Linked DNA regions of Homo sapiens: region 1 is linked to region 2. The links are contacts of gene promoters, found by promoter capture Hi-C in blood cells and fetal thymus (Javierre and others, 2016). All regions are on one chromosome and are shown on one strand. Each heading gives the region's core, a stretch centred on a gene start or on the middle of the fragment in contact. The rest is flanking DNA. Distances are from core to core; before and after follow the strand shown. Region 1 holds the start of HSD17B14 (hydroxysteroid 17-beta dehydrogenase 14). Region 2 holds the start of NUCB1-AS1 (NUCB1 antisense RNA 1).

Region 1 (4,028 bases), core at 864-3,363, 82 kb after region 2:
TTGGTAGAGACTGGGTTTCACCATGTTGGCCAGGGTGGTCTCGAACTCCTGACCTCAAGTGATCCGCCCGCCTCGGCCTCCCAAGGTGCTGGGATTACAGGGATAAGCTGTCGCACCTGGCCTGCTTTTTTTTTTTTTTTTTTAATTTTTAATTTTTGTTGGTACATACTAGGTATACATATATTTACGAGATAATTGAGATGTTTTGATACAGGCAGGCAATGTGAAATAAGCACATCATCGGGAATAGGGTATCCATCCCCTTTCAAGGATTTACCCTTTGATGTATAAACAATCTAGTTACACCCTTTAATTTATTTAAAAATGTACAATTAAATTATTATTGACTATAGTCATTCTGTTGTGCTATCTAATAGTAGGTCTTATTCATCCTTTTCTTTTTGTACCAATTAACCATCCCCCACCTCTCCCCCATGTACACACCCCCACCCCCAATCTTCTTTTTTTTTCTAGTCCAAGGAACACCACCCCTTACTTGCCGACTTCCGAAGGTCACCGGGAGCGGGTTCTCAGCCTCTCCCAAGCCCTGGCTACTGAGGCGTCGCAGTGGCACAGAATGATGACAGGTGACTGGCTGGGGATGTTGGACTTCTGGGTTTTAGGGAGGAGAGAGCTGGAGACCTGGAATCCCAGGTCCTGGAGAGGAGGGGTCTGGGGGCCGGTGAGAATTTTTTATCTTGGTGAGTAAAGAGTTGGGCAGGGTTTGGGAGTTTTAGGTCTCAGGCAAGAGGTGACTGGGGTCCGGGACACTTGGGAGGAGGGGAGGAAGAGGTCAGGGGGCGGGGAGAGGGCCGACAACTGAGTCTCAAAGAGGACTGGACTGGCGTATCCAGACTCCTGGATCTGAGGGAGGAGGGGCTGGGGGCCTGGACTCCTGGGTCTGAGGGAGGAGGGGCTGGGGGCCTGGACTCCTGGGTCTGATGGAGGAGGGGCTGGGAATCCGGAGTCCTGGGTCTGAGGGAGGAGGGGCTGGGAATCCGGGGTCCTAGCGCTGAGGTTTGCCATTCTCATGTCCCACTCATCCTCTCCAGGTGGAAATTTGGACTCCCAGGGAGACCCTCTTCCCGGTGTGCCGCTGCCTCCTTCGGACCCCACGCGCCAGGAGACCCCTCCCCCCAGATCTCCCCCGGTGGCTAATTCGGGTTCCACGGGGTTCTCTCGCCGAGGGAGTGGGCGTGGAGGAGGTCCCACCCCCTGGGGGCCCGCGTGGGATGCCGGGATCGCCCCTCCGGTCCTGCCACAAGACGAGGGGGCATGGCCTCTGCGAGTCACTCTGCTACAATCCAGCTTCTAATCCGCCCAAAAGCGGCAGCCAATCGGAGCGCGAGGACGTGGTCTGGAGGTACCGCCGGAGATCTGGGACCACTCAGGGCATCAGGGGGCGTGGTCTGGTCCCCATTGCGGGCCCGGGAGGGGAATGGTTTCTATGGCCAAAGTTTGGTTTTCTCAACACTGTCTAAATTTGGATTAAAACTTTGAACTTTTAGTCAATAGCTTTCTTTCTGTCTGTCTGGGGTTGTGGCACTGGTGTCTCTGAGGGGCAGAGCTGGAGTCGTGGACTCCTGGGTCCTGAGAGAGGAAGGGACAGGGGGCTTGGACTTATAGGTCTCTGGGAAGAAGGGATAGAGAACCTGATCCCTCGGTCTGAGAGTGGAGGGGGCTGGGCCAGGATTCCCGGGTCTGAGGGAGGAAGGGGTGGGACCCTGACTCCTGGGTCTGAGGGAGGAGGGACTGGGAGGCTGGACTCCCGGGTCTGAGGGAGGAGGGGCTGGGACCCTGACTCCTGGGTCTGAGGGAGGAGGGGCTGGGAGGCTGGACTCCCGGGTCTGAGGGAGGAGGGGCTGGGAGGCTGGACTCCCGAGTCTGAGGGAGGAGGGGCTGGGGGCCTGGACTCCCGAGTCTGAGGGAGGAGGGACTGAGGCTTCTGGATTCCTGGGTCTGTGGGAGGAGGGACTGGGGCTCCTGGATTCCTGGGTCTGTGGGAAGAGAGGAGTGTCTGAGGGAGGAGGGGCTGGGGACAAACTTCCAGGTCTCTAGCCTTCCTGGCAACGCCCCCCGAGGCCGGACTTCCAGGATCCAGCCTCTATTGAGGATTTGATGCGACGGCCTCACGGGGCTTTGGAGGTGAAAGAGGCCCAGAGTAGAGAGAGAGAGAGACCGACGTACACGGGATGGCTACGGGAACGCGCTATGCCGGGAAGGTGGTGGTCGTGACCGGGGGCGGGCGCGGCATCGGAGCTGGGATCGTGCGCGCCTTCGGTGAGCCGGGTCTGACTGCTGGGAGCTGTGGAGTGTGAGAAAGGAAGGATGGGGGCGGGGTGATGGGGGCGGAAAATAGGGACTCCAGTACTGCAGCCAGGATTCTGATATTATAAAAGCCAATTTGCAGGCTAAAGTAAGCGTGTGGCGCTGTAGGCTAGGGCTGAGTCTGGCAGGGTCTCCGAAGGCAGTGGCCCCTTTCTCTGGGTCTGTTGGTGTAGCTACAAAACCAGTGGTTTGAGGAATGGCTCTGTCAGTCGTGGAGTTTGCTCCGGAAGCCACGAACGGGGGTTCAGGAGCCTCAGCAGAAACAAGGCAAGGAGAGTATGTGTCAAGGCGTCTGCCCTCTGTCCTATGGGTGATCATGAGACTGGGGTCACGAGGGGAGAGGGAGATCAGCCCCAATCCAGGTGGCCACAAGAGGGCGGCAGAGGCTTTAACCAAGGCTCGGAGAGTAACCTGTTCCCTTCCTATTCTCAGTGAACAGCGGGGCCCGAGTGGTTATCTGCGACAAGGATGGTGAGTGACGGTCCCTCAGCCCTCACCTTGGCCCTTCCTCCCTCAGACCCAGAGGTCCAGACCCCTAGCACCTCCTCCCTCAGACCCCGGAGTCCAGGCCCCCAGGCCCTACTTCCTCAGACCCAGGAGTCCAGACCTCAGCCCCTCCTCCCTCAGACCTAGGAGTCCAGGCCCCCAGCCCCTCTGCCCTCAGACCCAGGAGTCCAGGTCCCCAGCCCCTCCTCCCTCAGACCCAGAAGTCCAGGCTCCGGCACCTCCTCCCTCAGACCCAGGAATCCAAGTCCCCAACCCCTCCTCCTTCAGACCCAGGGGTCCAGGCTCCCAGCCCCTCTTCCCTCAGACCCAGGAGTCCAGGCTCTGGCACCTCCTCCCTCAGACCCAGGAGTCCAGGCCCCCAGGCCCTACTTTCTCAGACCCAGGAGTCCAGACCTCAGCCCCTCCTCCCTCAGACCCAGGAGTCCAGGCTCCCAGCCCCTCCTCCCTCAGACCCAGGAGTCCAGGCCCCCATCCCCTCCTCCCTCAGACCCAGGAGTCCAGGCCCCCAGCCCCTCCTCCCTCAGACCCAGGAGTCCAGGCTCCCAGCACCTCCTCCCTCAGACCCAGGAGTCCAGGCCCCCAGGCCCTACTTCCTCGGACCCAGGAGTCCAGACCTCAGCCCCTCCTCCCTCAGACCCAGGAGTCCAGGCCCCCAGCCCCTCCTCCCTCAGACCCAGGAGTCCAGGCTCCCAGCACCTCCTCCCTCAGACCCAGGAGTCCAGGCCCCCAGGCCCTACTTCCTCGGACCCAGGAGTCCAGACCTCAGCCCCTCCTCCCTCAGACCCAGGAGTCCAGGCCCCCAGCCCCTCCTCCCTCAGACCCAGGAGTCCAGGCTCCCAGCCCTTCCTCCCTCAGACCCAGGAGTCCAGGCCCCCAGGCCCTACTTCCTCGGACCCAGGAGTCCAGACCTCAGCCCCTCCTCCCTCAGACCCAGGAGTCCAGGCCCCCAGCCCCTCCTCCCTCAGACCCAGGAGTCCAGGCTCCCAGCCCCTCCTCCCTCAGACCCAGGAGTCCAGGCTCCCAGCCCCTCCTCCCTCAGACCCAGGAGTCCAGGCTCCCAGCCCTTCCTCCCTCAGACCCAGGAGTCCAGGCCCCCAGGCCCTACTTCCTCGGACCCAGGAGTCCAGGCTCCCAGCCCTTCCTCCCTCAGACCCAGGAGTCCAGGCCCCCAGGCCCTACTTCCTCGGACCCAG
Region 2 (3,974 bases), core at 160-2,659:
TGCTGGCATGTGCCTGTAGTCCCAGCTAATAGGGAGGCTCAGGCAGGAGGATCACTTGAGGACAGGAGTTTGAGGCTGCAGTGGGCCATGATAACACCCCTGCACTCCAGCCTGGGTAATCCCAGCACTTTGGGAGGCTGAGAAGGGTGGATAGCTTGAGTCCAGGAGTTTCAGAGCAGCCTGGCCAACATGCAAAACCCTGTCTCTACCAAAAAATACAAAAATTAGCTAGGTGTGGTGCGGTGGTGCATGCCTGTAATCCCACCACTTAGGGAGGCCAGGTCAGGTGGATCGCTTGAGTCCAGCAGTTCTAGAGCAGCCTGGCCGATATGGCAAAACCCCATCTCTACAAAAAATACAAAAATTAGCCAGGCATGGTGGCTCACGCCTGTAATCCCAGCTACTCATGAGGCTGAGATGGGAGGATCGCTTGAATCCAAGAGGCGGAGGTTGCAGTGAGCCGAGATCCCACCACTGGGCTCCAGCCTACGCGACAGAGCAAGACCCTGTTTCAGAAAAAAAAAAAAAAAAAAAAAAATCACACCTCTAATCCCAGCACTTTGGGAGGCCAAGGTGGGTGGATAACCTGAGGTCAGGAGTTTGAGACCAGCCTGGCCAACATGGTGAAATCCTGCCTCTACTAAAAATACAAAAATCAGCTGGGTGTGGTGGCACGCACCTATAATCCCAGCTACTCAAGAGGATGAGCCAGGAGAATTGCTTGAACCTGGGAGGTGGAGGCTGCAGTGAGCCGAGATCGTGCCACTGCACTGCAGCCTGGGCGATGGAGTGAGACTCCGTCTCAGAATAAATAAATAAATAAATAAATAAATAAATAAATAAATAAGAGTCCTAGAGACAGGGGAAAACAGAGACCCAGAGATAGAGATGCAGTGACCCAGGAGAATGGACGGGGACCCAGAGAGAAAGAGAAGGGGCCTAAGATTCTGAAAGAAAGGTCATGGCTAGAAGAGAGAGAGGTTCAGGACCCCGAGTATCCCCCATGTTCTCACCTCCCAGCCCTCCCCGGTGTCCCCAAACTCCTTCCTCTGAGTGGATGCGAGGAACTCCTCCAGGGTCACGAGGCGGTCCTGGTTGGTGTCCACCTGGGGAGCCAGATAAGGGTGAGTGACAGAGCTGGGGGCCCGTCCTCTCCCCCGCCTGGCCCCCACCTCACATTCTTCATCACATGCTCCCGCATGCGCAGTCGCTCCTCCTCCATCTCCCGCATGTCGTCCTCCTCATTCTTTGGGTCGTACACTTTCTCCAGCTGCAGGAGCAAGCGAGAGGCAGACAGCATTGAGAGGTCCCCAGCGAGCTCATTCCCGACAACTTCAACTCCCAGCAGTCCTTTGGGCACGCTACCACTCCTGGGAGCCGTTTTTGCCCCAGGGGCTGATGGGAGTTGTAGTTTTCACTGAGCTCCCATCCAGGGGGATTTAAGGGGACTGCAGGAGGAAACAAGTGGCTGATTTGGGCGTCCCTCCAGGTGCCCGAGGCTTCCAAGATGCTCACCTCCTTGGTGAAGAGTGCCTCCAGCTCCTGCTCATCCAGGACACCATCACTGTTGATATCTGAAGGGAAGAGGATAGCAAGGTATCTCAGGGGACCGAGGACGGGATGTGTAAGGTCCCTGGTGAAGAAATTTTGGGCTGATGTGGGGTCTGTTATCAGAGGACAGGTAACTACGGGTCTCCCGCGGTGGAACGGTGGCCCCCAGGCTTTAGTACCCCACTAGACCCGTTGCTAGGGCCACTGCCTAGCGACCAGGGGGTTGAGAATGGAATAGATCAAAGGGAGGGTTCGAGGAAACATGCTTGGGTCACTGTCATGCAGGATTCTCTGGCCCTGGCATTCAGTGCTCTGGACACAGAGTCAGCTCCAGGGTTATCAGGGACCTCTGCCTCCCAGACAACCAGGCCAGTGCCGACTCCAGTTGTGAGGGGAGCCTCTCCTACCAACGTAGACCCCACAGCTGCAGGGCTTCAGGCTCGGTCAGCCACACTTCCTGTCCTCACCACCGGCCCTCCTTCCTCGGCTCCCTCAGACAAGCACAACCTTCCTCCTGAGGAGGAGGCCAGGAACCCTCATCTTGCAAATCCAGTGGTTAATTTCCACCTGCATCTGACTTGACTTTCTGCCCTTGGCTTCCAGAACATGATTCTGTCCTCTCTGGCTGCCCCTCCACCTCCTTTGACGGCTCCATCCTCTTCCTGACCTCCACATGCTAGTGTGGCCCAGGGCTCAGGCCTGGGGGTCTCTTCTCTGCCTAAACTCTGGATCTGCGCTGTCCAGTACAGTAGCCGCTAGCCACATGGGCTGTTTAAATGTAAATTGATTAAGATTAAAGAAAATGTAGGGGCCAAATTTAGGGGCTCATGCCTGTAATCCCAGTACTTTGGAAGGCTAAGGCAAGATCATTTGAGCACATTAAGTTCGAGACCAGCTTAGAAAAGATGGCTAGACCCCGTCTCTACAAAAAAAAAAAAAAAAGTAAAAAATTGGGCCGGGTGCGGTGGCTCACGCCTGTAATCCCAGCACTTTGGGAGGCCGAGGCAGGAGGATCACCTGAAGTCAGGAGTTCAAGACCAGCCTGGCCAGCATAGTAAAACCCCGTCTCTACAAAAATACAAAAATTAGCCAGGCATAATGCCAAGTGCCTGTAACCCCAGCTACTCAGGAGGCTGAGGCAGGAGAATAGCTTGAACCTGGGAGGCGGGGGTTGCAGTGTGCCAAGATCATGCCATTGCACTCCAGCCTGGGCAACAGAGCAAGACTCTGCCTCAAAAAGAAAAAAAAAATTTAAAAATTGGCTGGGCATGGTGGTGTGCACCTATGATCCCAGCTACTCTAAGGGTTGAGGTGGAAGAATCACTTGAGCCCAGGAGGTCTGGGTTGCAGTGAGCCATGATCACGCCACTGCACTCCAGCCTGGGTGACAAAGGGAAGCCCCATCTCTAAAAATAAAAAAAATGAAAAATAAAAAAAGGTATAGGGAGTTGCTCTGAACCTATTCTGGTCTGTAGGGACTGCCTGATTAAAAAGATTAAATAAGGTTTTTATTTTTTTATTTTTTAGAGACAGGGTCTCACTCTGTCACCCAGGCTGGAGTGCAATGGTGTGATCGTAGCTCACTGAAGCCTTGAACTCCTCGGCTCAAGTGATCCTCCCACCTCAGCCTCCCAAGTAGCTGGGACTACAGATGCACGCCACCACACCCAGCTAATTTTTGTATTTGTTTTCATAGAGATGGGGTTTTGCCATGTTGCCCAGGCTGGTCTTGAACTCCTGGTCTCAAGGGATCCAGCCGCCTTGGCTTCGCAAAGTGCTGGGATTATAGGGGTAAGCCACTGCGCCGGGCCTATTTATTTGTTTATTTATTTTTGAGACAGAGTCTCGCTCTGTTGCCAGGCTGGAGTGCAGTGGCATGATCTCAGCTCACTGCAACCTCCACCTCCAGGGTTTAAGTGATTCTCCTGCCTCAGCCTCCTGAGTAGCTGGGACTGCAGGTGCGTGCCACCATGCCCAGATAATTTTTGTATTTTTAGTAGAGACGGGGTTTCACTATGTTGGCCAGGATGGTCTCGATCTCTTGAGCTCCTGATCTGCCTGCCTTGGCCTCCGAAAGTGCTGGGACTACAGGCGTGAGCCACTGAGCCCAGCCTATTTTCTATTTTTTAGAGACAGGGTTTCACTCTGTTGCCCAGGCTGGAGGGCACTGGTATGATCATAGCTCACTGCAGCCTTGAATTCCTGGACTCAAGTGATCCTCCCACCTCTGCCTCCCAAGGAGCTGGGACTACAGATGCACGCCACCACACCCAGCTAATTTTTGTATTTTATTTGTAGAGATGGGTTTGTGCCATGTTGCCCAGGCTGGCCTTGAACTCCTGGACTCAAGGGATCCACCCACCTCGGCCTCCCAAAGTGCTGGGATTACAGGCGTGAGCCACCGCATCCAGCCCAAATGTCCT

Evidence for each region. Contacts are between HindIII fragments. The CHiCAGO score rates a contact against its expected background, and 5 or more counts as called.
Region 1: the fragment with the promoter of HSD17B14 here is called in contact with the fragment with the promoter of NUCB1-AS1 in region 2 in 2 of 17 cell types (monocytes and neutrophils); the score reaches 5.1 in monocytes.

Annotation. Positions count from the first base shown.
Region 1 is chr19:48,834,576-48,838,603 of GRCh38, reverse strand. HSD17B14 (hydroxysteroid 17-beta dehydrogenase 14) reads left to right here and starts at 2,113. Exons shown (of 9, transcript NM_016246.3): 1 at 2,113-2,280; 2 at 2,761-2,799. The coding sequence starts at 2,193. PLEKHA4 (pleckstrin homology domain containing A4) reads left to right here. Exons shown (of 20, transcript NM_020904.3): 19 at 475-587; 20 at 1,053-1,507. The coding sequence ends at 1,315. RefSeq lists a silencer at 1,136-1,205. The HindIII fragment of the contact is 28,283 bases long and covers 1-4,028 here.
Region 2 is chr19:48,916,326-48,920,299 of GRCh38, reverse strand. NUCB1-AS1 (NUCB1 antisense RNA 1) reads left to right here and starts at 1,409. Exons shown (of 2, transcript NR_046633.1): 1 at 1,409-1,596. NUCB1 (nucleobindin 1) reads right to left here. Exons shown (of 13, transcript NM_006184.6): 8 at 1,516-1,574; 9 at 1,178-1,270; 10 at 1,014-1,106. RefSeq lists an enhancer at 711-1,210. The HindIII fragment of the contact is 8,372 bases long and covers 1-3,974 here.